4 separate regions of the Homo sapiens genome follow, and all the other regions are linked to region 2. The links are contacts of gene promoters, found by promoter capture Hi-C in blood cells and fetal thymus (Javierre and others, 2016). All regions are on one chromosome and are shown on one strand. The core of a region is centred on a gene start or on the middle of the fragment in contact, and the rest is flanking DNA. Distances in the headings are between cores, read along the strand shown.

The links. The method cuts DNA at HindIII sites, captures the fragments that hold promoters and counts their contacts. A CHiCAGO score of 5 or more calls a contact.
Region 1: a contact is called between a fragment that was not itself captured here and the fragment with the promoter of ALKBH1 in region 2, in 2 of 17 cell types (naive B cells and total B cells). The highest score is 6.3, in naive B cells.
Region 3: a fragment that was not itself captured here is called in contact with the fragment with the promoter of ALKBH1 in region 2 in 2 of 17 cell types (total CD4 T cells and naive CD8 T cells); the score reaches 5.0 in total CD4 T cells.
Region 4: a contact is called between a fragment that was not itself captured here and the fragment with the promoter of ALKBH1 in region 2, in 10 of 17 cell types (naive CD4 T cells, total CD8 T cells, naive CD8 T cells and 7 more). The highest score is 16.3, in naive CD4 T cells.

The regions. Positions count from the first base shown.
Region 1 is chr14:77,343,745-77,350,631 of GRCh38, forward strand. It overlaps TMED8 (transmembrane p24 trafficking protein family member 8), which reads right to left. Exons shown (of 6, transcript NM_213601.3): 3 at 2,605-2,734; 4 at 1-79. Among named protein-coding and RNA genes, the nearest start is that of GSTZ1, 26 kb to the left of the region's middle. The HindIII fragment of the contact is 3,036 bases long and covers 2,244-5,279 here.
Region 2 is chr14:77,705,308-77,713,226 of GRCh38, forward strand. ALKBH1 (alkB homolog 1, histone H2A dioxygenase) reads right to left here and starts at 2,716. Exons shown (of 6, transcript NM_006020.3): 1 at 2,515-2,716. The coding sequence starts at 2,697. SLIRP (SRA stem-loop interacting RNA binding protein) reads left to right here and starts at 2,796. Exons shown (of 4, transcript NM_031210.6): 1 at 2,796-2,901; 2 at 5,531-5,589. The coding sequence starts at 2,805. RefSeq lists an enhancer at 2,350-2,679. The HindIII fragment of the contact is 1,367 bases long and covers 1,589-2,955 here.
Region 3 is chr14:77,429,681-77,436,850 of GRCh38, forward strand. VIPAS39 (VPS33B interacting protein, apical-basolateral polarity regulator, spe-39 homolog) reads right to left here. Exons shown (of 20, transcript NM_001193315.2): 13 at 6,164-6,239; 14 at 5,579-5,713; 15 at 4,582-4,623; 16 at 4,162-4,251; 17 at 1-87. Among named protein-coding and RNA genes, the nearest start is that of NOXRED1, 9.7 kb to the left of the region's middle. The HindIII fragment of the contact is 1,250 bases long and covers 4,202-5,451 here.
Region 4 is chr14:77,446,855-77,454,360 of GRCh38, forward strand. It overlaps VIPAS39 (VPS33B interacting protein, apical-basolateral polarity regulator, spe-39 homolog), which reads right to left. Exons shown (of 20, transcript NM_001193315.2): 2 at 7,156-7,248; 3 at 6,445-6,547; 4 at 4,333-4,479; 5 at 2,860-2,898; 6 at 2,439-2,503; 7 at 1,640-1,696. The coding sequence starts at 7,248. Among named protein-coding and RNA genes, the nearest start is that of VIPAS39, 7.0 kb to the right of the region's middle. The HindIII fragment of the contact is 415 bases long and covers 4,558-4,972 here.

The sequences.
Region 1 (6,887 bases), core at 2,512-5,011, 360 kb before region 2:
GAACATCTATAGCTCCTGTATGTTCAGACTGGATCATAACGATGTCCCCAGACCTCTGTGGAACTTGATACTTAGCCATCTGCACAACAGAACTCTGGTTAAAGGAGTATTCGAGTGGCAGATTCTAATTAATCTCTTTTTGCATGAAGGCTGCCCCACCCCTGCTCTATTATCTCCACTATCCCCACTCAAAGCTTAATGTACTAGTCAATGTTCCTTCTCTTTCTTCCAAATAGAAGTTGCTAATAAATTCTACTAATTTTTTAAAGCCATCAAAATATTCCATTGTTTAAAGACTGTTTCCTACCTTTTGCAACTTTCCTGCTCCAAACCCTTTATAAGGTCCTTGTCCGCCAACACCCTCGCAGGTTGTTAACAGTATTTGCATTGACTGTGATTCTGGGCCATGCCTTGGTCTTACCTCACCTGCACAGTACCTCCCTGTGGCTCCTCTCATTAATAGCTCTTGCTCCTAGGGTTTAGTTTGACTCCCACTCTGCCACACATCCTCCTGCTACAATTCCCACTCAAGGGTTACTTCTACATTACTGTCAATCAGCTCTCCAAAGCACTGCAGAGACAGAATCTGGTTTATAGTCTTTCTCTCTCATCCACAGCCCACCTCGGGCTACAGATTGTCTCAGTCTTGAAGTCACTAACAGTGTTCTATCAATAGTTACAATTTCACCTTAGACCAGCCCCAGGACTTGCATTTAAACAGTACATTTGCTGCCAGACGTCTGACTTACATGGAAGAATGCAAATGGCATTTGATACTCAAAGCCCTCACTAACCCATGCGGGAGCTTACAATGTCTCCCTGGTGAGTTTCCCTTCAAATCACTCAGATTAGTGTTCCTGGTTTCATGCTATTATACCTTAATTTCTGCCCCTTCTCCAAACAGTTGGCAGGCAACTCAACAAGAAAACTATACCTATTGCCCACAGGGGAGAGCACATCAGTGAGTCAGCAATCCAGTTAAGAGGCTGGAATTGTATTTGTGAGAAATAAATAAATCAAGTTTGTAATCCTCCCAGGCTGTATTCTCATAATATCTGTTTCTGGAGAATAAGCCCTCCAGTTCTCATCTCCTTTGCTAACTGAAATGAATCAGACTTTGGCTAGCGTGCTTAAATAAATCCTTCCTTTTCTAAAATGCTAAATAAAGGATTAGGTTGCAACATATTAGCTACATAGCCTTAGTAAAGTCTCTAACAGCCCTCAGCCTCAGTTTCCTCATTTCTTTCTTTCATTCCTTTTGAGACAGAGTTTTGCTCTTGTTGCCCAGGCTGGAGTGCAATGGCACGATCTCAGCTCACTGCAACCTCCACCTCCCAGGTTCAAGCAATTCTCCTGCCTCAGCCTCCCGAGTAGCTGGGATTACAGACACCTGCCAACACGCCCAGCTAATTTTGTATTTTTAGTAGAGATGGGGTTTTTCCATGTTGGTCAGGCTGGTCTCGAACCCCTGACCTCAAGTGATCTGCCTGCCTCGGCCTCCCAAAGTGCTGGGATTACAGGCATGAGCCACCGGGCCCAGCCAGTTTCCTCATTTCTTAAATGGAGACACAATGGCACCTATCTGACAAGGTTGTTCTCAGGAGTAAATGAAGTGTTACAGATACAAATGCTTGTAAACTGTAAAGTATTATACAAATCTAATTATAACGCCTGGTGGTGTCTTCATTGACACTAATACCAACCATTATTCTAACACATATGCTAATAAATGATAGAAACAACCCCATCCCGCCCCCATCCCTCCATGGCAGGGGCACCACTACACCATCACTTCCATACAGCTACTTGGAAGGCTGAGGCAGGAGGATCACTCGAGCCCAGGATTTTGAGGCTGCAGTGAGCCATGACTGCACCATCGCACTGAAGCCGGGTGACAGAGTGAGACCTTTGTCTCAAAAAAAAAAAAAAAAAAAAAAAATCAAGGCCAGGCACAGTGGCTCACATCTGTAATCATAGCACTTTGGGAGGTCAAGGCGGGTGGATCACCTGAGGTCAGGAGTTCGAGATTAGCCTGACCAATATGGTGAAGCCCTGCCTCTACTAAAAATACAAAAATTAGCCGGGTGTGGTGGCATGTGCCTGTAATCCCAGCTACTCGGGAGGCGAGGTGGGACAATCACTTGAACCCAGGAGGTGGAGGTTGCAGTGAGCCAAGATCGTGCCACTGCACTCCAGCCTGGGCGACAGAGGGAGACCCTGTCTCAAAAAAAAAAAAAAAAAAAAGCTTCTGTGGAATCTTTATCATAAATACTAAATAGATCTACCACAAGAAAAGTAAGAGCAAAATAGTCCAATGACTTCAGGCTCCTCAATGAAGAGGATTTTAGAGAACACATGAACATTCACTCTAACACTTCGTTTTCTGAATCGGTGCCTACTGGGTGCCAGTACAATGATGGGCCCTGTGGAAGATACAAATAATCATTCTCCAAAAAATAATGAAGACCAAGATGCCCTAAATTAGAGGGCAAAGAGAGAATTCCGGGAGCCACCCTCGCAGTGCTTTCTAATTCCAACCCAACCACTATGTGTCCACATTCTGGTGCCTCCTTTCATAAGAAAGAGCCAGAATCTGCCCCCTACCTCATTGAGGACCTGGGCCTGGTCTGCAGGCAGCAAATCCTGTTTCACCAAGGCCTGAGCCTCCAAAGGACCAGTTGCTTTCCGCAGATCTTCCGTGGCATCCTTACTCACTGGAGATACCATCTGTGGCCTCTCAGAGGAAGAGAGCATGTTAATTCAAGGACTCTTTGAAAAGACTCAATCATCCTGGAGAAACTTTGAAATAAAACAACATTCGAGATACCCCCTGCCCCACCTGCCCCTGGCATTTATTTAGCTCTACTGTCACCTTAGCCGACCACTGCCCAGGGCTGAATTGGTCCACAGTAAAGTGTTGACAGTGTGAAAACAAAGACTAACAAGGCCAGGTCAAAGGCTAGGAGAACCATGGAAAACACACAGCTCCATCATCTGAGATGGACTGCTGGTCTGGTTTTTTTTTTTTTTTTTTTTTTTTGTCATTGTTGTTTCTTTTATTTATTTATTTTAGTTGACAAAGTGTATATATTTATGGTGTACAATGTGCTGTTTTGATATATGTACACATTGTAAAATGATTAAATTGAGCTAATTAACATATCCATCCCCTCACATACTCCTTTTTGTGGTGAGAACATTTAAAATCTACTGTCTTAGCAATTTTCAAGTATACATTGTTATTAACTATTGTCACCATGTTGTACAAAGATCTCCAGAACTTGTTCCTCCTTCTAACACCTTATACCACTTGACCAACATCTCCCCATCCCACCCCCTGGCCCCAACACCTATTAACCACCATCCTGCCCTCGGCTTCTGTGAGTTCCAATGTTATTCCTCACTCTGCGGCCCACAGGGCCCACAGAATTTTAACCGAGGAATTGGTAGAATCTCAGTTCAGTTCTACACACAAAGCCACTGGCTAGAAGCAAAAGGAGGAGGTCTGCCTAAGGGAGACTGGGCACCAAAACAAAGTACAAAATGATGATCAAGGCAACCCTCTCTGCAGTTATCCCTGAGGCAGTCTTTCAGCAGATCCGTTTCATACCCTGTCCCCGTTCAGTGCTAGGGGTCATCACTTTCTCTCCTTTTTAAAGCACATTAATCAACAATCCCAATGGCTTCAAACACAGCTATGTGAATAGTTGTTTGTTTTTTGGCAGAGTGCACCAGTGATGCATCTCACCACAACCTCAAGCAATTCTCCTGCCTCAGCCTCCCGAGTAGCTGGGATCACAGGCATGTGCCACGACACCCGGCTAATTTTGTATTTTTAGTAGAGACAGTGTTTCTCCATGTTGTTGGTCAGGCTGGTCTTGAACTCCCGACCTCAGGTGATCTGCCTGCCTCGGCCTCCCAAAGTACTAGGATTACAGGCGTGAGCCACCGTGCTCAGCCATGAATAGTTGATTATAAAGATGCAAGGGAATGATTTATGCTCTCTTCCATTTCCCCTGGCCTCACAAAAACTAGAAAATTAGTGCCACGGTTGTAGCAAAATAACCCAGGCCTTTTGGGAATCTGTTGCTGATAAAAGGTGACATGGATTTTTTTGAATGGCAGTTATCCAAGTATGGTCTAGGGGCCCTTCGGGGGAGTCTATGAAGTTCAAACTGTTTCATAATAACACTAAAATGTTATTTCCCTTTTTTCATTCTCATTTTCTCAAGAGTGTGCAGTGGAATTTTCCAGAGACTATATGACATGTGATACCGCAATAGAATGAACTCAGAAGCAGAGCTGAGAATCCAACTGCCTTTTATTAAGCCAAACATTAAAGAGATTTATGTCTCTCTTTGTACTACATTCTTTGCTTTGAAAATTAGTTGTTTTTAAGTAAAAACATGTTTTATATATAGCATGTCATGAGTTATTATTTTTAAATGAACAAATAACCATATTCTAATTTTTCAGTTTTAATTTCTTTTTTTTTTTGAGACGGAGTCTCACTCTGTCGCCCAGGCTGGAGTGCAGTGGCGCGATCTCAGCTCACTCAAGCTCCGCCTCCCGGGTTCACTCCGTTCTCCTGCCTCACCCTCCCGAGTAGCTGGGACTACAGGCGCCGGCCACCACACCCAGCTAATTTTTTTGTATTTTTAGTAGAGACGTGGTTTCACCATGTTAGCCAGGATGGTCTCGATCTCCTGACCTCGTGATCCACCCACCTTGGCCTCCCAAAGTGCTGGGATTACAGGCATGAGCCACCGCGCCCGGCTGTTTTAATTTCTAATATAGTAAATATTGATAGATATAACCCACACAAACAAAAATTCTTTGGGTCCTTAATAATTTTTAAGAGTATAAAGGTCTGAGAATCCCTGCTTGAGGGCATCATTTCCTCAAAGAGGTTGAGTAAATGACTGGAAAATGGTAGTATACACCTCATGGGGGAAACGGAGGCTTCATTTTAGAGTTTATTAGTTTGTTTCTTTTCTTTTTTAACATAAACAAGAAGAATCACTCCTTCAGATAAAACAGAGCCATCTTTTGGAATATCCAAAATTACTCCAACCTACCTCAGGACAGACAAGAGGAGGTCACTCCAAGAATCAGAGCTGTGGGATTCTGTTGATCTTTATAGGTTCACTTGGGTAATTCAGTGTAAGCTGTAAACTGGCCTAGGCTGTGGGTCTATTTTAATGCTCTTCAACCCAGAAATTATAGTCCATTTCTGTTTCTTGACACTGTGTATCATCTGCCTCCTCTACTAGAAAGTAAGCTTGGTGGCAGGCACTGGGTCTCACTGCCTCTGTATGCACAGCACTGGGAACCAAGCCTGCCACCTGGAACTCTAAGGCCCTTTTTTTTTTTTTTTTTTTTTGGAGACAGAGTCTTGCTCTGTCGCCCAAGCTGGGGTGTAGTGGCATGATCTCGGATCTCGGCTCACTGCAACTCTGCCTCCCTGGTTCAAGCAATTCTCTTGCCTCAGCCTCCTGAGTAGCTGGGACTACAGGTGTGCACCACCATGCCTGGCTAATTTTTTGTATTTTTAATAGAGACGGGGTTTCACCATGTTGGCCAGGGTGGTCTCAAACTTCTGACCTCAGATGATCCACCCGCCTCTGCCTCCCAAAGTGCTGGGATTACAGGCGTGAGCCACCTCGCCCAGCCCTAAGGCCCTTTGCACTCTGACCTCACCTCTCAGAATCCTCACTCTGCCCTGGTCCCTCCAGCCACAACAGCCTCTTCAATCCTTGATAGTCCTCAAACACCCCAAGTACTCTCCCACTTGAGAGCTTTTGCATTTGCTGTAATCTCTGCCTAGAATACTCTTCTAGGACATTAACTCTTCTTTAGTTAACTGAAGACTTCCTTCCTGCAGGTTTTCTGCTGAGAGGTTTCTCAGAGGTCTGTATATAAAATGTGTGCCCCTTCCTGGCCTTGTCACTGTTTCTGCCCTTACCCAGCTTCATTTTTCTTCACTGCACCTATTACTGCCTGACATGATATGGAGCATATTTTGTTGATTGCAAGATGCACACTGGCTTTTAGATTTTAACACAACTGAAAGATAGGATGTCTTAAAAATTGATGATATCTTAAAAGTGCCGTGGGCCTGGATTGACATCAACTCTTTCCACGAGAGATTTGCATTTGCTTCTGCCAGTACTTAGGAATGCTACCAATCTGAGACTTCTTGAAATTAAGTTCTCTGTTTAGGGTTTTGTTTAATCCTCCTGGCAGAGTGAATTTAGACAAGACACTGGCTAATACCAACTGGTGGTTCCTATTCTCAGGGGAGATATTTTTTCCTCCTATGACACAGTGTCAAGTTTGAGACAATCAAGCTTCCTTGCTGTCCTTTTCTGTGTGGGGGATTTTTGTCTTTATATTTTCACTGAAGGTGCAGGTTTTTGGTATCCCAGTTGCATATGGGGGGTCTATTAGATGATCCATCTTAAGCATTTCTTCCTCTCTTGGTGGGACGTGAAAGCACAACTTACAGTTGACGGCAACTTAAGAGTCTGTGAAGTATGATGTGTAATTGTTTTCTGTCCACTTCCCCCACTAGAACATAAGCTCCCTGAGAGCAGTGATGGACTATTTTGTTCATTTGTGGTTTCTTTAGTACCTAGAACAGTATCAGGTACATGGTAGGCTCCCAACAAACATCTGTTGAATAAATATTAGCCCCAAAATATTTGTTGAATAAAAAATGAATAAGTTAATTTTTGCCTGGGAATAAAAGAGAAATTCTGGATCAGACTATCATTTATAATATTGGAAAGGTGAGACTACAACAGGCTATCTGAATCATTAGCTTGACTTACTGTGTGTGACATCTAAAATTGTCTCTTTGTCTTTGTGCATGCTACTCTGAAAAA
Region 2 (7,919 bases), core at 1,466-3,965:
GGCTGGGGCACCAGAATTGCTTCAACCTGGGAGGTGAAAGTTGCAGTGAGCTGAGATTGTGCCACTGTACTCCAGCCTAGGAACAGAGCAAGACTCCGTCTAAGAAAAAAAAAAAAAAAAAAAAAGAGAATGAAAAGAGAGTGCTGTAAACAGACAGAAAAAATGTTGCAGTGAGACACTGGGAATCCTGTCTGCTAAAAGTAAAAGCTAAAAAATCCTGTTTGCCCTCTTCTAGATGAAATGTCCAACTGACGCTACAACTTCTGCTTCTGTTAATTACTTAGAAATGAATTTAGTATTTCAGGGGCTGAAGTTTTCTTTGTATGTGAGTATCTAATGGATGGCTCATTACATTGGTTAAGAGACCCACTATGCAGTCATTGAAGTCAAAACATTAAAGGAAAAAACCTTTATTCTTCCCTGAATAGTAAACCTAGGGTCTGCCTTGCCTTAAAATATATGAAACAGGCCGAGCGGTGGCTCACACCTGTAATTCCAACACTTTGGGAAGCCAAGGCAGGTAGATCACCTGAGGTCAGGAGTTTGGGTCCAGACTGGCCAACATGGCGAAACCCCGTCTCTACTAAAAATACAAAAATTAGCCAGGCATGGTGGCGCGTGCCTGTAGTCCCAGCTACTTGGGAGGCTGAAGCAGAAGAATCATTTGAACCTAGGAGATGGAGGTTGCAGTGAGCCAAGATCACGCCACTGCACTTCAGCCTGGGTGACACAGTGAGACGCTGTCTCAGTAAAAAAAAGTATATATATTATATATACACACACATATATACACACACACATATATATATATATGAAACATTCTCTTTGAAAGAGAATGATCTTTTATCTTATCAACTTCTCCAAGTGTGGAGATTCCTGGACAAAATACCAAAAGTTTGCTGATGTATAACCAGTCTCTATAATAAAAGGGCTATATGAAACCCTCTGACAGTACTATCAGCTGAGTTTTCCAGGTACCTAGGCACTGGTAAAACACTTTTAAGCATTTTGTCATGATTTCTTTAATAGGCCATACTTAATACTGCACTATAATTCAACACACTCTCAGAGGTGATGTTAGTGGACCTATTCTATCATATGCTAAACTGAACGACACCACTGAGCTTTTATAAAAGGTTTTCTCTTTCCTCCCTTGCCAGACTGTTAACCACCACTTTCCCCACCAGTCTCATCAGCTGGCTTGTAATAGTAACTTCTCTTAATTACTACTTTAATCTGCTTTGAGCTGAGGAACTAAACACCCAAGCTTTCATGTACTCAACACATACTGTACTTAGTACTGTTTTAGGTCCTGTACTAGACACATAATGGCTCATTCCCTGATGGCTGACATTCTAAAAAGCATGTACATATTATGGTAAAATGTAGGTAAAAGGAGCTGAATGAGAGTCTGAAGCGCTCTGGAGAGAAAAAGTATATTATTATTGGGGTGTGGACTTTCTGTATTTTGACAACTCTAAGACCACTTTTTTTCCCTAACAAATGAAGGTGCTGAAAAGCTGAGCTCAAGTATGCAATCATTAACACTTAATACTGTAGCATCCCAATTTTATCAGAGCTGTTAGGAAGCTTGGAAAGAATGCCTCATCTAGACATCTGTGGACAACACCAAGAGCAAATTAAGGGACTGCATATCCTCAACGTTAAAGTGGATTGTAAAGAAAGAAAATATAAATTGGACTACAGTTTTGGTTCCCCGTTTTCCCTCTTGCCTGTTATGTTCCCTTAAAAAAATAATTTTTAAAAAATCTATTTACTTGAGAACAGGTTATGAGACTGGCTAATTTTTTGTATTTTTGGCGGAAACGGGGGTCTTGCCATGCCCCAGGCTGGTCTCGAACCCCTGGGTTCAAGCGATCCACCCGCCTCGGCCTCCGAAGTGCGGGATTACAGGCTTGAGCCACCGCTCCCGGACTGTGTTCCCCTTCTTAATCTCCATGGGGAAAAGCTGAGAGAGAGAACGGTGCCTGTATTCCATATATACTTGTTTGCCATTTATTTTCAACACGGAGGGATTCTCAGAATCCTTCAATGACCTCCTTCTAAAAGAGCCAGAGGAGAAGACAGGGACTAGTTTTACGCACAGTGGCTTAACAAACAGCGCCGCATCCCTGTCAGTTCTGGGATTCCTCGGGAGTGGTTTTTTTTAAGCTGCAGAAGTCTACCCTACCGTCTACAAAGACGTTCTATGGGGTTTTACAAAAACCCAAACAGAAATGTGAGGAGACAGTTACAGTAAGAAATAAACACGGATTCCCAGGCTCTTTTGACTGAGCGCCCCCGCCAGGAATGGCCGCCTAAAGAAACAGGCATCTCAACGCTTTATTGCTAAGTGTGACGGTTAGTGGGGAGTTCGACTCTGCAGCCAAAGGAGGTCAGGAATCGTTCAATAACAATCGGTCTGGAGGTGAAAAGAGGCGAAGAAGACACGTAAGTCCCTCCAAGACGCGGGGCAAAGCGATGGAGAGACGCGCGCCACTCCTCTCTCTGTACCTTTTGGGCACCAGGACCCTTGCCACGGGCTGCGTGGGCCGCCGAGAAGTCGATGACCCCTTCCAGGTCTGCGGTCCCGGGCCGGCTCTGACGGTAGAAGCGGAAAAGTTTCCGAAAGGCGTCCTCCCCGGGCTCAGTCGCCAGAGTCGCCACAGAGCCCACGGCCGCTGCCATCTTCCCCATCTCGCGGCCTATACCCTCTGATCCGGAAGCAGATTCTCTCGTGTTCCGGATCCGGAAATTTTTTCCGGGGCCGCGACCTCGGCTCGAGAAGGTGCTTTAGTCTGAAGATGGCGGCCTCAGCAGCGAGAGGTGCTGCGGCGCTGCGTAGAAGTATCAATCAGCCGGTTGCTTTTGTGAGAAGAATTCCTTGGACTGCGGCGTCGAGTGAGTGATGGAGATGTGGGAGTAGTGGAATTTTTAGGTCCAAGTGATCCTCAAAGCTTCTGCTTTTTGCAGGGTACTTAAGTCAGCGTGGTGGCTGAATTAGGAGACTGCTCCTGAGCATGCAAGTGAGCAGAAAGAAATTTTGTTTGCAGTTAACCGTTTAGGGATGTCCCTTGAGCTTTTGGGGTCACGAATGCACCGGCTCTTGCCTTTAGGAGTGATTTGGTGTAAAGATTTATTACTTGGTAACCAAGATTTACAATTTAGAAGGGATAATTTTGACTGTAGTGTGGAGGATGGATTCAAGGTGGCAAGATTGTAGGCGTGCAGAGGAGCTAAAAGGCAATTTCATTAATTTACTTAAAACGTGAGGACCTGAATTAGGGCGATGGTAGAAGGATGGTGGTCAGATGCATTAATGTTTTAAAAGCAAATTAGATGCCGTTTCGTGATGGCTTAAGTGGGAGAAGTGTACGGAATAAAGGAAAGGGAGAAATGATTTCTGGGTTTTTAGCATTGGTGAATTGTTTGTTTAGAAGTTAGGAGCAGGCCAAGAGAAGATGAGTAAAGTTTGAATGTGTTGACTTTGAGAAACTTGTGAGGTTTCCGTCAGGCAATTGGACAAAGGTTGTATATCATTGTGGCTGAGAAGTGGACTCCGAAGCTAGACCGTTGGGGTTAGAATTCCAACTTGGCCATTTAATCGTTGTTATCACTTGAATAACTGAAGTTAGTATGGGAAAAGGGCTCACAACTGGGCCTCAGTTTACTCATCGATAAAATGGAGTCAATAATACCCAACTCATAGGATTGTTGAGAGGATTGAGTTTATATGCAAACTTCTTAGACTTGTGTTAGATACAGTGTAAGTACTCAGCAAATGATAGTTATTTTCACGGTAACTAAAATTGAAACTTACGGGAGAGGCCTAGTCTACAGATAAAGGTTGGAATAATTAGTTCTGAAATCTTTCACCACCTTCAATTTTTGTCAGCTGCAGTTTTGAGATGAGGTTTTTATATTTGCTTACCAACATGTAAACATTCGTGGTCACTCTTTTTGTAGATATTCATGTTTCAGGTCAACCCCTGGAAACAAAATGGAGCAAGATTTAGTTTCTTCTAAGTTTTTAGTGGCTCAGATGTGAGTAGTAGAATGGGAAATAGGTTGGTTTGTGCCCCGTGTTTTAAACATGTGGTTGGTGAAGACCAAGCCCAGTAAAGTCTCCCGTAGTCCCTGTGAAACTTTATGGAAAGGCTGAGGAGTTTCATTAGCATCTTGCGGATGCAAGTTTCCAGACAATAAAGGGCTAGTTTAAAACCCTTAAAAAGAGTCAGCATTATGTACAGCTTCGAAACAGTTTCTCTTTGTTGTTCCATTGATTCAGCAAATATTTATTTGAGTATCTATTCTGTGGTAGGCATTGTTCTTGGTGCTTGCAGCTGTTTTTCCTTCACCATTTTAGGCAATTTAGGAAGAGGGTTACCTTCCAGAGCTGGTTTGTTTTGAAATCAGTGTCTTCTAGGACTTTAATTATCTGGTATAAAACATATGTTTAACATTATTTTGTTCTCCAGTATCATATTCTGTGAGACCTTGATCTTGCCAGTTGGTTTGACTTAACCATTAGAGCCCTTCAAAATTTAGTCTCTGTGGATTGTTGGAAGGATTAGTGGACTTTTACTTATTCATTTAGCCAATATTGAGGCCCTGCTGTTTATTGGTCACTGTAAACATAGTGGTTTATATGCTGAGGGAGCTTACAATTAGTGGTGGGGATGAAGAGACTTAGAACAAATATAGGCAATTGTTGAACCAGTGAGGTTTTGGTGAACTAGGAGAACTAAATAGATATTATAAAAAGTAAATCAGTGAAGTACAAGCACTGTAGTTCAGAAGAGAAACAGATCGTGTAGTTTTTAGTCTTTAAGATTATATACTCTAAATCTTTGAAGTCTCACAGGGCTGGTACATTGTCTTGTACTGTGATAGGAGCCCAATAAAGTAATACTCAGTGGATGTACTTGGTTTGGGTCTTGAAGGATAGTTATAGTGTTACAAGTTAGCCAGGGGGAGATAGGATTACCAACATATGGAGGGGAGAGAACAACATATGCAAAGAGGGTAACCCGCAGGACAGATAAAGATAATTCAATTAGTTGTACTAGAGAGTAACTAGGGGCTAGCAGTGGGAAATAAGGCAGGAAGGGTAGGTGAGGGCAACTCAACACATTTTACTAAATTGTGAAAGACCAGTAAGTTGGGATTTTATTTGGAAATCTTCAGTATACCGGGAAACACACTGGATTGTAATTTGTCTTTTTCTTCATTGTGATCTGCTCACAGGGATCATAGTCCACATAGCACAGTAACTGGTATGAAAACACTCGATATTTGCTGAGGATGGAGACTGCAGCCAACTCAACAACTTCTCTGTCCATCTCACCACCAAGTCTGGTACATTATGGCTTTATAGTCAGTACCATAGCTGCTTCCTAAATCTTAAGCCTTTAAGGAAATGCAAAGTAGTTCCTGTCCACAAGAAATCTGGTGACCCTGTCTTTCTACAGTCTAAGATAGAGAATCCAAAATATAGTAACTACTTTTAATGTTTTCTTCTGCCACACAGGTCAGCTGAAAGAACACTTTGCACAGTTCGGCCATGTCAGAAGGTGCATTTTACCTTTTGTAAGTATTAAGGAAAAGTAGGTGGGAGGTGGGGATGGCTAATGGGTACAAAAAAAATAGAATGAATAAGACCTATTTGATAGTACAACAGGGTGACTATGGTCAATAATAATTGTACATTTTAAAATAACTCAGAGTGTAATTGGATTATTTGTAACTCAAAGGATAAATGCCTGAGGGGATGGATACCCCATAAGTCAAAGGATAAATGCTTGAGGGGATAGATACCCCATGCTCCATGATGTGCTTAATTTACATTGCATGCCTATATCAAAACATCTCATGTACTCCATAATAAATATACATATTTATATATATAAATATATAAATATATACACCTAATAATATATAAATATATATAAATATATACCCAAATAAATATATACACCTACTATACACTCACAAAAATTGTTGAAAAAAAAGCTTAAAGTGTTTTAAAAAATTCTTATCTTGCAACAGGGTCTCGCTCTGTCCCCCTGCAGGGGTGCAGTGGCCTGATCTCACTGCAGCCTCTGCCTCCCAGGCTTAAGTGATCTTCCTGCCTTGGCCTCCTGAGTAGCTGGGACTATAGACATGTGCCACCATGCCCAGCTAACTTTTTTGGTATTTTTTAGTGGAGACAGGGTTTCGCCATACTGTCCAGACTGGAAAATTTTTTTAATTTTCATTTTCTTTAAGAGACAGGGTCTTGTTCTGTCACCCCAGGTGGAGTGCAGTGATGCAGTCATGGCTCACTGCAACCTCTGCCTCCCAGGCTTAGGTGATCCTCCCACCTCAGCCTCCTGAGTAGCTGGGACTACAGGCATGCACCACCACACCTGGGTAATTTTTGTATTTTTTGTAGAGATGGGGTTTCGCCATGTTGCTTATGCTGGTCTCGTCGAACTCCTGGGCTCAAGCTATCCGCACACCTCGGCCTCCCAAAATGTTGAGATTACAGGTGTGAGCCACTGTGCTGGCTTATTTTTGTGGAGATGGGGGTCTTGCCATGTTGCCCAGGCTGATCTTGAACTCCTGGCTTCAAGCAATCCTCCTGCATTGGCCTCCCAAAGTGCTGGGATTACAGGCGTGAGCCACTGTGCCCGGCCTACAGTCTTTATTGATTACATTTTGAGTGATACTTGATTAAAAAGTGAAAAAGCTTTATCATAGGTATTTGTGTTAGTTTTTTTATTGTTGTATAACAAAATACCACAAGCGTAATGGCTCAAAAACAACACATCTCTCACAGCTGAGCACAGTTTAGCTGGGTCCTCTCCTTAGGATCTCACATAGCTATATATTCCAGGTGTCAGCTGGGGCTGTGGTGTGTCTCATCAAAGGGTCAACTGGGGAAAAAGACTGACTTGCAAGCTCCCTCATGTGGTTGGCAAAATTCCTTTTTTTTTTTTTTTGAGATGGAGTCTTTCTCCCTTGCCTAAGCTGGAGTTGCAGTGGTGCAGTCTCAGCTTACTGCAACCTCTGCCTCCTGGGTTCAAGCCATTCTCCTGCCTCAGCCTCCTGAGTAGCTGGGACTACAGGCATGCGCCACCACGACCGGCTAATTTTTTTTTTTTTTTTTTTTTTGAGACGGAGTCTCACTCTGTGGCCTAGGCTGGAGTGCAGTGGCGCGATCTCGGCTCACCACAAGCTCTGCCTCCTGGGTTCACGCCATTCTCCTGCCTCAGCCTCCTGAGTAGCTGGGACTACAGGCGCCCGCCACTACGCCCGGCTAATTTTTTGTATTTTTAGTAGAGATGGAGTTTCGCTATGTTGGCCAGGCTGGTCTCGAACTCCTGACCTCAAGTGACCCGCCCGCCTGGGCTTCCCAAAATGCTGGGATTACAGGTGTGAGCCTTCATGCCCGGCCATAATTCATCTTTAACTGTAGGACTGAGGTCTGTTTTCTTGTTGACCTTTGGCTCTGAGTTGGGAGCTGCTCTCACCTAGGAACTCCCTGCAGTTCCTTGTTACCTAGTTTATCTGTAGGCTGTCTTACAATATGGCAGCTTGCTTCTTTAAAGCCAGCAAGGGCTTCTCCAGTCTGCTTAAGATGGCATCTTATACAGAACATAATCACAGGAGTGACATCCCATTACTTTCGCTGTATTCTTTTGGTTAGAAGCAAGTCAGGTTTCTCCTCCACCCAAGGAGGGGAGGAGATTATATAGGGTGTAACATGGGGAATGCATGGAGATCATGGGGCCCATCTTAGAATTCTGCCTACTACAGTATTCTAATAAGGACTTGAGATTTCTAATAATTGGCAGAGGATATTTTAAGTTTTATCTTCATTGAGTACCATTTTCTTTTTTAGATTTATAACTAATAAAACAATATTTTTATATTAA
Region 3 (7,170 bases), core at 3,577-6,076, 270 kb before region 2:
CTGCACAGGGGCATTGTTCTTGTGCAAAATTTCGACAACCCGATGGAAGCCAATGGGTGCTCTCTTCTTGGTATAGCCCAGCCAGTTCTGAAAGAGGAAGATGGGGTAGCGGCAGGTAGGCCAGGCACACTCAACACATTCTAGGTTAGTCTATGTTTTACGATCAGACCAGAATAATGTGGTGGGTGAGTGGGGGTGCTGAGGGATACAGAAATAATGAGAAATGAATTTTTCAGAAAAATCAAGGGATTTGAGAGAGTGGAAATGAATCAGGTTTGAAATAACTTCTTAGATCTATAGAAACGAATGCAGGGAAAAGTCTTGAAATACTACTAAATGGGATAAGTAACTTACTTAATATTTGTAGTATGAACTTATCAATGTAGAAAATAATTCCATCTTCCATATCTTTGTAAGTACAGATGTTTATTTGCAAATTCATGAGGGAAGGTCTGGAAAGCTACCCATTAAACTTTTAACAGTGTTTGCCTTGAGAAAGGGGGTGAGATAGGAGTAGGTAGAAAATGAAAAAGGAACTTCACTCTTTCTATACTTTAATACAGTGTTTGATTTTGACAACAGACACATATTGCTTTGTTAATATAACTAATTAAATAATTAACAAATAGGAAAAACAGAAAATTTTTAAACCCATAATGGAAAAACAGATATTTAAAACGTAAACTAATTCATATTGAACCGCCAAAGATCCCACATAGCCAAAGCAATCAATGTTAAAGAAAAACAAAATGGAGGCCAGGTGCGGTGGCTCATGTCTGTAATCCCAGCACTTTTGGAGGCCGAGGTGGGCGGATCACTTGAGGCCAGGAGTTCGAGACCAGCCTGGCCAACATGGTGAAACCCCATCTTTACTAAAAATACAAAAATTAGCCGGGCAGGGTGGCGCATGCCTTTAATCCCAGCTACTCGGGAGGTTGAGGCAGGAGATTCAGTGGAACCCTGGAGGCAGAGGTTGCAGTGAGCTGAGATTGCACCACTGCACTCCAGCCTGGGTGACAGAGCAAGACTCTGTCTCAAAAAAGAAAAAAAAAAAAAAAGGGGGGGTAGGGGTAGGAGGCAACATGCTTCATGATTTCAAATTATATTACAAAGTTACATATATTAATCAAAACAGTACGGGGCTGGCATAAAAACAAACACATAGACCAGTGGAATAGAATAGAGAGCCTAGAAATAAACCCAAGCATATATGGTCAGCTAATTTTCAACAAAAGCACCAAGAGGACCCAATGGGGAAAGGATAGTCTCTTCAATGAGTGGTGCTGGGAAAACTGGATTTCCACATGCAAAAGAATGAAATTAGACCTTTATCTTACACCATACACAAAAATCAACTCAAAATGGATAATATACCTAAGCATAAGACCTGAAGCCATAAAACTCATAGAAGAAAACATGGGAAAAAGCTCCTTGACATTGGCCTTGGCAATGATTTTTTTGGATATCACACCAAAGGCTCAGGCTACAAAAGCAAAAATAAATGGGATTACATCAAACTAAAAAGCTGCGCATGGCAAAGGAAACAATCAAAATGAAAGGCAGCCTATGGATTAGAATATTTGTAAACCACATATCTGATAAGGGATTAGTATCTAAAACATATAAAGAACTCACACAATGCAATAGCAGAAACAAAAATTGCCAGATTTAAAAATGGGCAAAAGACTTGAATGGACATTTCTCCAAAGAAGACATGGAAATGGCCAAGAAGTACATGAAAAGGTGATCAGTATCACTAAACATCAGGGAAATGCAAATCAAAACTATAATAAGATATCACCTCACACCTGTTAAGATGACTGTTATCAAAAAGACAAATGATGTGTTAGCAAGGGTGTGGGGAAAGGGAACTCTTGTACCCTGTCGGTGGGAATGTAGATTGGTGTAGCCAATGTGGAAAACAGGCTGCAGTGAGCTACGGTCATGCCACTGCACTTCAGCCTGGGTGACAGAGTGAGACCCTCTCTCAAAAAAGTAAAAATAAAAATAAAAATAGAACTATCATATGACCCAGTAATCAATCTTTCTTTTGGGTATATGCCCAAAATAAATGAAATCATCACCTCATAAAGATACTTGCATTTCCACATTCATTGTAACACTATTCATGAGATGTTAACTATTCATGAAATGTAACTATTATAAATTATTGCTGAGAATTTAAATATCTGTAACTTACAAAAATAATAAACAAATAAATAATTCCCTCTCCCTAAAAAATAGCCAAGATAAGGAAACAACTTAAGTGTCCATTGACAAACAAATGGATACAGAAACTATGGAACTATGGTATATATATACATACATGCTGGAATATTAGCTTTAGAGATCTAATTACAAGATGAGGACTGTAGTTAATAGTACTGTACTGTAATCAGGAGTTTTGCTAAATGAGTAGATTTTAGCTGTTTTTGCCACAAAAAAATAATTTGAGATGATAGATATGTTAATTTGCTTCACTGTAGTAACCATTTTACTCTCTACATGTATCTCATAACATCTTATCGTATAACTTAAGTATATACAATATATAATAACATTTATCTTAAAAAAAGAAGAAAGATAACAAGTGTTGGCAAGGGTATAGAGAAAAGGGACCCTGGTACACTGTTGTCGGTGGGAATGTAAATTAGTGCAGCCATCATGAAAAACAGTATAGGCGTTCCTCAAAAATGTTTAAACAGAACTACTATATGATCCAGCAATCCCACTATTGCATATAAATCCAAAGGAAATGCAATCAGCATCTCACAGAGACATCTACACTCCCATGTTTATTGTGGCATTATTCACAAGAGCCAAGATATGGAAACAACCTAAGTGTCCATTGATGGATGAGTGGATAAAGAAATTGTGGTACATATATACAATGGAATATATTCAGAACTTAAAAAATAAGGAGATCCTGACATGTGACAGCATGGATGAACCTGGAGGACATTATGCTAAGTGAAATAAGCCAGACAGAAAGGAAAATAACCTCATGATCTCACTCATGTAGGATCTAAAAAAGTCAAACACATAGAAAGTAGTTTCCAGAGGGGGAAAAAAGTAGGTCAAAGGATACAAAGTTGTAGTTATGCAGGATGAATAAATCTAGAAATCTAATGTACAGCATGAGGAATACAGTTAATAATAGTGTAGTGTATACTGGAAATTTGCTAAGAGAGTGAATTTTAGGGGTTCTTACCACACTCACAAAAAATGGCTAACTGTGAGATGATGGGTTAATTGGCATGACTGTATAATCATTTCACTATGTATATGTAGATCAAAACATTATGTTGTACCTTAAATATATACAATAAAAATTAATTTAAAAAAAGGTAAATCAGTAAAGACATGACAACCAAACTCAATCCAAGGTCTTTGATTGGATCCTGATAGAAAAAAATACAGAAGCAAACCAAAAGTAGCTATAAATAACTAATTTAAATATGGACCATGATTAAATATGTATTATTATATTAATGTTAAATTTTTTTAGTGATAATTATATTGTGCTTCTTTTTTTTTGAGACAGGGTTTTGCTCTTGTTGCCCAGGCTGGAGTGCAATGGTGCAATCTTGGCTCACTGCAACCTCCGCCTCCTGGATTCAAGCAATTCTCTCGCCTCAGCCTCCTGAGTAGCTGGGATTACAGGTGCACACCACCACACCCAGCTAATTTTTGTATTTTCAGTAGAGACGGGGTTTCACCATGTTGGCCAGGATGGTCTCAAACTCCTGACCTCAGGTGATCCACCCGCCTCGGCCTCCCAAAGTGCTGGGATTATAGGCGTGAGCCACCGCGCCCAGCCCAATATTGTGCTTACGTAGTATTAAAGGAGAGGTGTTAAGATGTCTACAACTTACTTTCAAATGATTCAGAAAAGAAAAACACATAGGTATAGAAAAAGAGAAAGCATACATGGCAAAATTGTTAATAAATTAGTGATGTGGATAAAGACTATTATACTATTATAGTATATATTTGATTATTATATGAACTATAAAATTCATTCTTTCAACTTTTCTTTAGGTTTGAAATTTTGGAAAATAAAAAGTTGGAGGAAAAATGTAAACCGGTAACTAGAACTTATAACATGATAGAACCCTTCTGTCTCCCAAGGCCTCAGCAGCACAGGGGCAGGGCACACACCTTTGTGGTGAATAGGGCATCTACATCATTCCAGGCTCGAAGCTTGGCACGAGCAGCCAGGGCTGTCAGCACATACTGTTTATCTGGGATCTGGAAAGCAGAGACCGAGAAAAATTAAGGGGAAGTAGAAATACATCAATGGGGGTGCTTAAGAATTTTAGAAAAGACAGACATTAAATATTTCCTGATATTGACTCTGCCCCTTAAAAATCAAAAAATTTCTCAGTTCAAGAACTTCTTAATTCCCAAGCCCCAGCACTGCTATAGGCCATTCAGTCTTCTCTCACTTTCCCAAACTCATTCCTTTCCACCTTTAACCTTGAATATCAAAGGACACACTGTACAGGGTTACAAAGCAACATCCACTCCATGTAGTTACCCTGATCACTAGTTTCATAACACTGACCAATTTGTATCTACCTTAAATGTCTTCTTCAGGTTGACGGGACTGCTGAATGTCCCCTAGGATGAAAGTGAAAAAGGAACTTTAGTGATATTGACTTTCCCAAGTACCACCCAAGCTCTCATTTTCTTTCCCACTACAGAGACTTTCTACATCTTACTCTGCTGCCATTTAAACATAGAAATTAATTTCAGGGAAAAGCTCCATTGGGAATAGTCAGATACCACTATAAGCTGGCTTATCAAGAACTGGAGTAATAAGTATGGTGCCTTTTCCCATTTTCTGCTAATCCAAATAAGGAGAAAATGTCTGCCTGTTATCATGGAATCCATACTTCTTTGAAAAATTTAGAAAGAAAAAAAGAGTAGCCAGGCGCGGTGGCTCTCACCTATAATCCCAGCACTTTGGGAGGCTGAGGCAGGTGGATCACGAGGTCAGGAGTTCAACACCAGCCTGGCCAACATGGTGAAACCCTGTCTCTACTAAAAATACAAAAAAAAAAAAATTAGCGGGGAGTGGTGGCGCACACCTGTGATCCCAGCTACTCAGGAGGCTGAGGCAGGAGAATTGCTTGAACCCAGGAGGCGGAGGTTACAGTGAGCCAAGATCGCACCACTGCACTCCAGCCTGGGCGACAGAGCAAGACTCCATCTCAGAGAAAAAAAAAAAAAAAGTATCCATAGCTACTTGCCACCCTACTGCTTTTCTCCACATCATGCTAATCCATTTGATATTGTGGACCTTTGAACAGAGACTTCTACAGGTAACAGCACCAGGGACAGAACTTGCTATGCTAGCATGCCAGCTCACTTGAAGCTACAAACCTTACAAACCTCTTTTCCCTCCTGGCCAGATGAGGCCCTCTTACCCCTGGTGAGGGCCAGGAAAGCTTCCAGGTGGATTTCTGAGAACTATACATACCCATTATTAATAGAGTACATAAAAGTACTGGATTTGAACTATCTTCTTTTTGTGCAATGAGAGTTTGTGGAATCTTCCATATTTTGCCTGTACCTCAGCCTCTGTGTAGTGATAGAAGCAGGAGTAGAAAAGTGTTGTCACTAGTGGCATGTTGAGGATGGAGGCTTTGCGGGGGTGCTTTCGGAAGATCTCAGTCTGTCCTGCTGATTCTAGATGGCGATCATTTGCCTGTGGTGGAGTGAGCCAAGTGAAAAAAAAAAAAAACAATGTCCATGGAGTAGAGGCAGGAGAAAAATCTTTTAATACTACAGCAGTTGTGTTTCCCACCCTAGGAGAGAAACAAAGAACAGAAAAAGAAAGAAATTGCCTAGGATATCCCCAGAGTAGTTTAAAATCCATCAAATGATCATGAATCCACATTGGATGGAAACAAATAGAAGTGGGGAGGACATGGGAGATTCGGGATGAAGAAGAAATACTTCCAGGTTAACAGCTGGTAAGAGGAAAAAGGATCCTAAAAACAATGGAGGAAGGGGGCTATTGTGTACAGGCAGAAAATGAAAGGCTTTTAGAAACCAGTAAGAAATGACCCACGTGCAGAGCATAGAAATCTCCTAGATGCTGAACGGCACTGAGCCTTGGCACTGAAGCAAAAGATATAGAGATGAAGAGTCTAACCTCAATAATGATCTGACGTTCCAGGAGCGTGTAATGGTCCTGTATGTGTGCGGAATCTTCTGCTGAAAATGGCAAACTGGTAGAGTGCCAGAAGGTTAGTACCTTTCTCTATTCAAACAAGGAAACAAACCCAACTAAACCAAATCGCCAGCATAAGTATAAGAGGCTCACGGTGCCTCACAAGTCTGATCTCAGTTCACCTTTAGAGCGTCCCTTAAAGAAAGACATCGCATGAATGGCGTGAATTTCATATTAAAGGTTTTGCCAATTCAAGAGGGATCCTGAGAGTCCACAAAATACTTATAGTCACTCATAATTTTGCTGATAAATGAATTAGAATCCTCTCATTTTGAGAGTTGGAATATTTGGTGAATGAGTCACAAAGCTAATGAGTGAGCCTAGGCAACTGCCCATCATCCACATCCCAGTGAAATTCTGTGGCTTGTGCTTAACTTACTGAGGGGACACCTAGATTTGTTAGCCATTTTTTTATGGCAGAGTACAAAAGGTAAATTAAATTACATGCCATGGTGGTATGTTTATAGATCAGCAAATATCACAAATGTCAAGGGTCCCATCTTCAACACTGCATTATGTTTTTTGTTTGTCTGCTTGTTTTGAGATGGAGTTTCTCTGTGTCACCCAGGCTGGAGTGCAGTGGCATGATCTTGGCTCACTACAACCTCCACCTCCTGAGTTCAAGCAATTCTCCTGCCTCAGCCTCCAGAGTAGCTGGGACTACAGGCGTATGCTGCCACGCCCAGCTTATTTTTGTATTTTTAGTAGAGACAGGGTTTCACCATGTTCGCCAGGACGGTCTTGATCTCCTAACCTCGTGATCCACCTGCCTCAACCTCCCAAGGCGCTGGGATTACAGGCGTGAGCTGCTGCGCCCGGCCACATTATTGTTATACATGAAGATGCTGAGGGACAGCGTCTTGCCAAAAAGTCATGTGGTCAATGGGGAAGGCCAAGAATAGAAGCCAGATTTTAAATGCCCAGTTCAC
Region 4 (7,506 bases), core at 3,515-6,014, 260 kb before region 2:
AAGCTGGAATGGAGTGGCACAATCTCGGCTCATTGCAGCCTCGACCTTCAGGGCTCAAGCAATCCTTCCATCTCAGCCTCTCAAGCAACTGTGACTAAAAACATATCCTGCTATAAGATTATAAGTTACATTTATATATTTATAATTATAAATTATAATATACATTTATATTATAAATTAGCCACACCTGGCTTTTTTTTTTTTAAGATGGAGTTCCGCTCTTGTTGCCCAGGCTGGAGTGCAATTGCACAATCTCGGCCACCAGGTTCAAACGATTCTCTTGCCTCAGCCTCCTGAGAAGCTGTGATTTACAGGCATGTGCCACCACGCCCAGCTAATTTTGTATTTTTAGTAGAGACGGGGTTTCTCCATGTTGGTCAGGCTGGTCTTAAACTCCCAACCTCAGGTGATCTGCCTGTCTTGGCCTTCCAAAGTGCTGGGATTACAGGCATGAACCACCGTGCCCGGCCGCACACCTGGCTAATTTTTTTTTTTTTATCATTTGTAGAGACACGGTCTCACTATGTTGCCCAGCCTAGTCTTGAACTCCTGGGCTCGACAGATCCTCCCACCTTGGCCTCCCCAAGTTCTGGGATTACAGGCATGAGCCACTGTGACTGGCCCGATTTTCAACAAAAGCATCAGCAGGATAATTCAATGGGGAAAGGATAGTTTTTTCAACAAATAGTGCTGGAACAAATGGAGATCTACATGGGGAAAACAATTAAACTCAAACCCTTACATCACACCATATGCAAAAATGAACTCAATGAATCACAGATCTAACATAAAAGATTGTTCTCACTCTCTTTTTTTGGGCAGGGGGGCGGAGTTTCACTCTTGTTGCCCAGGCTGGAGTGCAGTGGCACGATCTCAGCTCACTACAACCTCCACTTCCCAGATTCAAGTGATTCTCCTGCCTCAGCCTCCCGAGTAGCTGGGATTACAGGTGCACGCCACCACGCCCGCCTAATTTTTTGTATTTTTAGTAGAGATGGGGTTTCACCATGTTGGCCAGGCTGGTCTAGAACTCCTGACCTCAGGTGATCTGCCTGCCTTGGCCTCCCAAAGTGCTGGGATTACAGGCGTGAGCCACCATGCCCGGCTTCTCTTTTTTTTTTTTGAGACGGAGTCTCACTCACCAGGCTGAAATGCAGTGGTGCAATCTCAGCTCACTGCAACCTCCACCTCCTGGGTTCAAGTGATTCTCCTGCCTCAGCCTCCCGAGTAGCTGGGACTACAGGTGCCTGCCACCACACCCGGCTAATTTTTTATATTTTTAGTACAGATGGGGTTTCACCATGTTGGCCAGGATGGTCTTGATCTCTTGACCTCGTGATCCACCCTCCTCGGCCTCCCAAAGTGCTGGGATTACAGGCGTGAGCCACCACCCCTGGCCCTGGCCTCTCACTCTTAAATGTACTTTTCCCTCTCATCCATCACTCTTTCCCCACTACCCCATCAAAGCAACAGTAATGGAGAATCAGAAATTTTGCCACTGACTTTCAACCTTAGTGGATTTATTTTCCCCCTGAAATTCATTGAACAAATGAGAACTGAAGAGAGGTCAAGAAATCTTCCCTGTGTGAACAAGCTGCCCAGCTTCCCAAAGAACCTCACAAAAATTCTCTGTCCTTACCTTGCCCTTCCGGAGACGTCGCACTGTATCACTGGGGCTCCAGTCATTGCTGTAATCCTGGAATATTAGCAATACGTGAATCCCAGGAAGTTAAGGAATCAAATTTATCAGCATACCCGCTCCTCAACTCAAACTCAGTCTTAGTGTCTAAGGGGGAAATAATTTGTGGGAGGGAATGGATGTGAAAAAAATGAAGAAATGGGACGGTTTTGTTTTGAGTTTCTGAAGGAACTAGAGCAGGGGCAATATAGATAGGAGGAGATGGATCAAAGAGGGAGGAGCCAATTGACAAAGCCAGTAGCCCCATGCCTACCAGTTCAGGACTGCAACCTCTAGATGAATTAGAATCACGTTTTAGGATTCTAACAATTAATGCCTTTGGCCAACAGAAGGAAAGAGAGAGATGTTGGAGACATGTTCCTTTTCCGACCTTAGGATATGGTTTCTTCCTTATGAATCAATTTGCTTTATTTGTTTCATGGGAATATGAGCTCTACCAGGCTTCCAGACTGCAGTGATGATCACTGGGTTTCAAAGTACAGCCTTCAAGTGGGAGCATAATGAGTAAGCAAAGTATGGCAGAGCTGAGTCAGAATATAGAGATTATAAGTCTAAGTTGCACCCTTTCCCAGCTCTGAGACCCCAGGTAAGCCCTCATGTTTAGAAACCCAGTTTTCTAATCTATAAAACAGGGTTAAAAAAATATCTACTCAAATAGTTGGGAAAATCAAGCCAGGTAACATATGTCAAGGTACTTTATACTGTGGAAAGTGTCACACCAGTGTATGCTGTAACTCACCCTATACTCCCCTTTGGGTCTCCCCAGCTCTGGAGCATAGCTTTTGGCAGGTGTGTCTGACAGAGCTGAAAAAGAATAAGCAGCTGGTTCAGAAGGGCACCATGAATCCTGCTTGTCATTCCTTCCCTCTACTTCTTCGTTCTCACATTTTTTTGACTTGTGGGCTCCCAATGTTAACTTTATGGCCAAAAGCAGATCTCCGTTCTTCCCCAAAGACAGCATCCCTAGAAGTCACCTTTGCCCCTGTAGCTAGAATGATTTCTACCTCCTTAGTCAGTATCAGAAAATTCCTCTAATAATGACAGTAGATGCAGAAGAAAGTTCATCTTGTCATCTAATTACTACCTGTCCCCATAACTCCCCAGACTGTACCAGATCAGTAACATTTCCCACAGCAATTAAAAGAGGGTTCAATGCCTACCATCAGAAAGGGACTGGAAACTTCCAGGTCTAGTTCTACCTAAAGGTAAAGAACACAAGAGGGAAAAGGTCAACAGTTTCAATCAGAGCCATCCAGGCTTGGTTAAAGACACAATGTGTAACCAACTCAATAACGCAATATAGGAACTTAAGGCTTAAAAAAGGTTTTATTCATCTGTAGAAATCTGAAGTGCCATTAAAAAATGGAGCAGGGAGAAAATTTTTTTTAATTATGGTAAAATATACATAACAAAATTTACCATTTTAACCATTTTTAAGTGTATAAGTCAGTAGCATTAAGTACATTCACACTGTTGTACAACCATCACCACTATCCATCTCCAGAACTTTTTCATCATCCCAAACTGAGACTCTCTACCCTTTAACCAACTCTACACCCTTTAAACAATAACTCTCCATTCCCTCCACCCCAGCTCTTGGTAACCACCATTCTACTTCCTGTCTCTATGAATCTGACTATTCTAGGTCATACGTAAATGGAGTCATACAATATTTGTCCCTTTGTGCCTCATTTTATTTAGTATCACATCCTCAAGGATCATCCATATGGCAGCATGTATGGGAATGTCGTTCTTCTTTAATGCTGAGTAACATTCCGCTGCATGTATATGGCACATTTTGTTTATCCATTCATCCATCAATGGACATTTGGGTTGTTTCCATCTTTTGGCTATTGTGAATAATGCTACTATCAACATGGAGGTACAAATATATGTTCAAGTACCTGCTTTCCATTCTTTTTGAGATATACCCAGAAGTAAAATTGCTAGATCATATGTTATTTATTTATTTATTGAGATGGAGTTTTGCTCTGTCACCCAGGCTAGACTGCAGTAGTGCAATCTCGGTTCACTACAACCTTTGCCTCCCAGGTTCTAGCAATCTGCCTCCCTCAGCCTCCTGAGCAGCTGGGATTACAGAAGCCCCCACCATGCCCGGCTAATTTTTGTATTTTTAGTAGAGACGGGGTTTCACCATATTGGTAGGCTGGTCTAGAACTCTTGACCTCAGGTGATCCACCTGCCTCAGCCTCCCAAAAGTGCTGGGATTACAGGCGTGAGCCACCACGCCTAGCCAGTTATATGTTTACTGTTTAATTTTTTTTAAAAAACCACCATACTGTCTTCCACGGTGGCTGCACCATTTGGCATTCCCACCAACAAGGTTTTCCAACAGCAATGCACAAGGAGTAGGGAGGAATTTTGATCTAGGCAAATTTTTTCAGTACCAGTCACAGGGTTAATGTCAATTTCATTCATCATGCTATAGAAAACCAGTCCAACTCCTCTGAATTTCTCTCATTTATCTCGCTCCTAACACCCAGCTGCCACCTCCAATGAGAATGCTTTACCCTTCAATAATCTTTTTCTTACAAAGTAAATGAAAATTATGGCCTAAGATTTTTCTGGAAAAAGAGAAGGACTTCCCTATCCATTTAAGCATCTCTCTTTACCTCTAAAAAAGCTGCTCAGGGAGTAGGTAGAAGTAGGCTTGGGTAGTTGTGCATAGGAGGAGAAGCTGTTTCGGCTCTTTAGCTGTTCACGCCCCTCGTGGGTTGAGCCGCTATTACCAGCAGTCTCTCTGATGGACCATGAGATACCTGTGAGATAGTAAGAACTACATCAGCAATTCTCATCCACAATAAAGCCTTGACATCCAACATTCAATAAACTCTAAAAGCTTTTCACCAGAAGCCCTGGTCCCTTGGCCAACTTGGGGCAGGGAGAAAAGATAGAATCAAATAGACTAATCAGCAGAAAAATGGACCAAGGACATGAATAGGTGGATCACAGAAAATTCAAATGGCTCTTCAACATATGAAAAGATGCTCAACCTTACTCTTTTTTCTCTTTTTTTCTTTTTTTTTAGAGACAGGGTCTCACTACATTGCCGGAGCTCTGGAGTACAGTGGCTATTCACAATCATATCTAACAGTCATGTCTCACGTCAGCCTCAACTCCTGGCCTCAAGCCATCCATCGCCACTACCCTCCAGAGGCACACACCACCTGCCCCCAGCTTTGCTAAGAGTACTACAAATTAAAAATATAATGAGAAACCATTAGTCCCCTATAAGATGGGGAAAGATCCAAAAGCTTGATAATACCGTGTTAGCCAGGCTATAGGGAAACTGGAACCCTCCTCCATTGCTGGTGGTAGTATGAATTGGTACAACCCCTGTGGAGGTCAATTTGGCAATATCTACCCAATACAGATGCAAACATCCTATGTGAGTAATTCCACTCTAAGAATTGCTCTTTCATTTATGCATCTATGGTCAGAATATAAAGTCAATGATAGAAATATAAAGAGCAAAAGATTGAAAAATCTAAAATTCAACAGTGGGCTGGCTAAAAAATGATGGTAAACCCATACAATTTAATACTATGCTGCTATTTAAAAAAAAGAAAGAGAAAATGAGAACACTCTTTATATACTGACATGGAAAGATCTCCAAGCTATATTAACACATAAAAAGAGCAAGGTATGAAGCATGCTACTGCTTGTGTAAAAATGGGATAAGAATACATGTTTCTATATACTTTTCCAGATGCAAAAAGAGTCTTTAGATGAATACACAGGAACCAAGCAACGATTGTTTTTTGGGAGGACATGAACTGAAAACTGAGAAGATACATAACAATATGGAACGGAAACTTTTCACTGTAGACCTTTAATTTTTTTTTTTTAATCTTTAGTCACATTATAGTATGGCCTATTTTTTAAAAACTTTCAATTAAAAATATTTCTTAAAAATCAGATGGGGACCAGGGATGGTGGCTCATACCTATAATCCCAGCATTTGGGAGGCCAAGGCAGGCGGATCACTTGAGGTCAGCAGTTCAAGACCAGCCTGGCCAACATGGTAAAACTCCATCTCTACTAAAAATACAAAAATTAGCCAGGCATGGTGGTTGGCACCTTTAATCCCAGCTACTAGGGAGGCTGAAGCATGAGAATCGCTTGAACCTGGGAGGCGGAGGTTGCAGTGAGTCAGGATCGCGCCATTGCACTCCAGACTAGGCAACAGAGTAAGACTCCATCTCAAAAAAAAAAAAAAAAAAAAATCAAATGGACTCTGAAAAAGTATTAAGTGGTATCATATACAGCTAAGCAGTGAGACTTGGTGGGTAAGGAAGTCCGTTCTGTCAATCAGTTATTAGTATACTGAGTCAAGTCAGTAGTTCCCAAATATGGCTATATATCAGAATCACCTGCAGTGTTTATTAAAATTTGAGACCCCCTCTACTCCGCAGAAGACCTAATGAACAGAATCTCTGGGATAAAGCCTAGGAGTATGTCATTTTAACAAGCACCCCAAATGAGAATGAAATAGCCAGCTAAGAGTCAACCCCTGAAGAGCAGACCTATATAGCCATGTGGGAACTCCTGCTGGATTTCCCAAGTATCTTCTCCTGGAGTTAAGTTTCCAGATGTATGCTTATCTGAAAATAGTCTTATCCTAGTCCCTCTCCTAACTAGCATTGAAGAAACAAACAAGTAGAGCCTTTATCAGTGATAAGAATCCTCAACATCTATCCCTGCCTAGGGACTCTTCTACTTACTTCCCACAGGTTCCCCACTCCAGCTGACTCGCTCCAGGTCATCATCGTCATCATCATCCACGAAGTCTCGGAGGCTGTTCACCGCCCGCTTGGACTCCTTTAACTGCAGAGGGACACAAGGCTAGGGTGCTCAGGCAAATCATCATTTCCCACCTCTCTTCTGACAATCAAGAAGGCTGAGGAATTGGGGCCTGAAGGTGGCCAACACTCGCCCTGTGCAATCGAAAGCCTAGCATACTACATATTTGCCAAGAAAACAAACTGATTTTTAGCCAACACTACAGTCCAGTGATAAAAGAGTTAGGAGGAATCAAAGTCACTTTTGAATTCTCATCATATTCCTGGCAGTGACTTGCTATGTAAACCTGAGTGAATTTATTCACCTCTCTAAAAATAAATGATTCCTCAATTGCAAAATAGACACAACAAAGATAAATCTTCCAATCCAGTTCATCTTTCAAAAATAAAAAAATATATATCACATAAATAAAAGACTTGGGGTTCTTCAAAAGAAAAAAAAACCTGTAGGAATAAATCATCTTAAAAAGGTAAAGTAAGAAAGGCAGTGAGCTGGATTTTACAATCCTTCTGGCTCTTTTCTGAGCCTAATGAAGACATACATGGTCAAAAGCCTAGTTACCCAGAATGCAAGAGGAAGGAATTTTATAGTGGCACTGTGGAGAAGAGTACAAACTTCAGCAGTTGACCTACCTGTGAAAGCTCATCGTCTTCATCGTCAAAGGTAAAAGCCTTGAACTTGGAGCTGTTCCAATACTCCTCCTCATCACCCTTTGTCCGATTCATCTACAGTGACAGGAAAACATACATTGCCCCTTTCTGGGTCTCTCCCTAAAGAGTTCCAAAAGCTTTAGTTTCCTGCACCACTAACTGATCCCAAAAATCAAGGATGCAGAAAAGAATCTGGTAAAACAAATATTGAACCTGCCATATAAAACCAGATTCTTGGGTCTCCAACTGATCAAATCATACTTCTAATCTTCTAATTACCCATAAGTAGTCATCCATTCTTAAGAGCATCCACTTTGTCCAGGGCACTCTCTC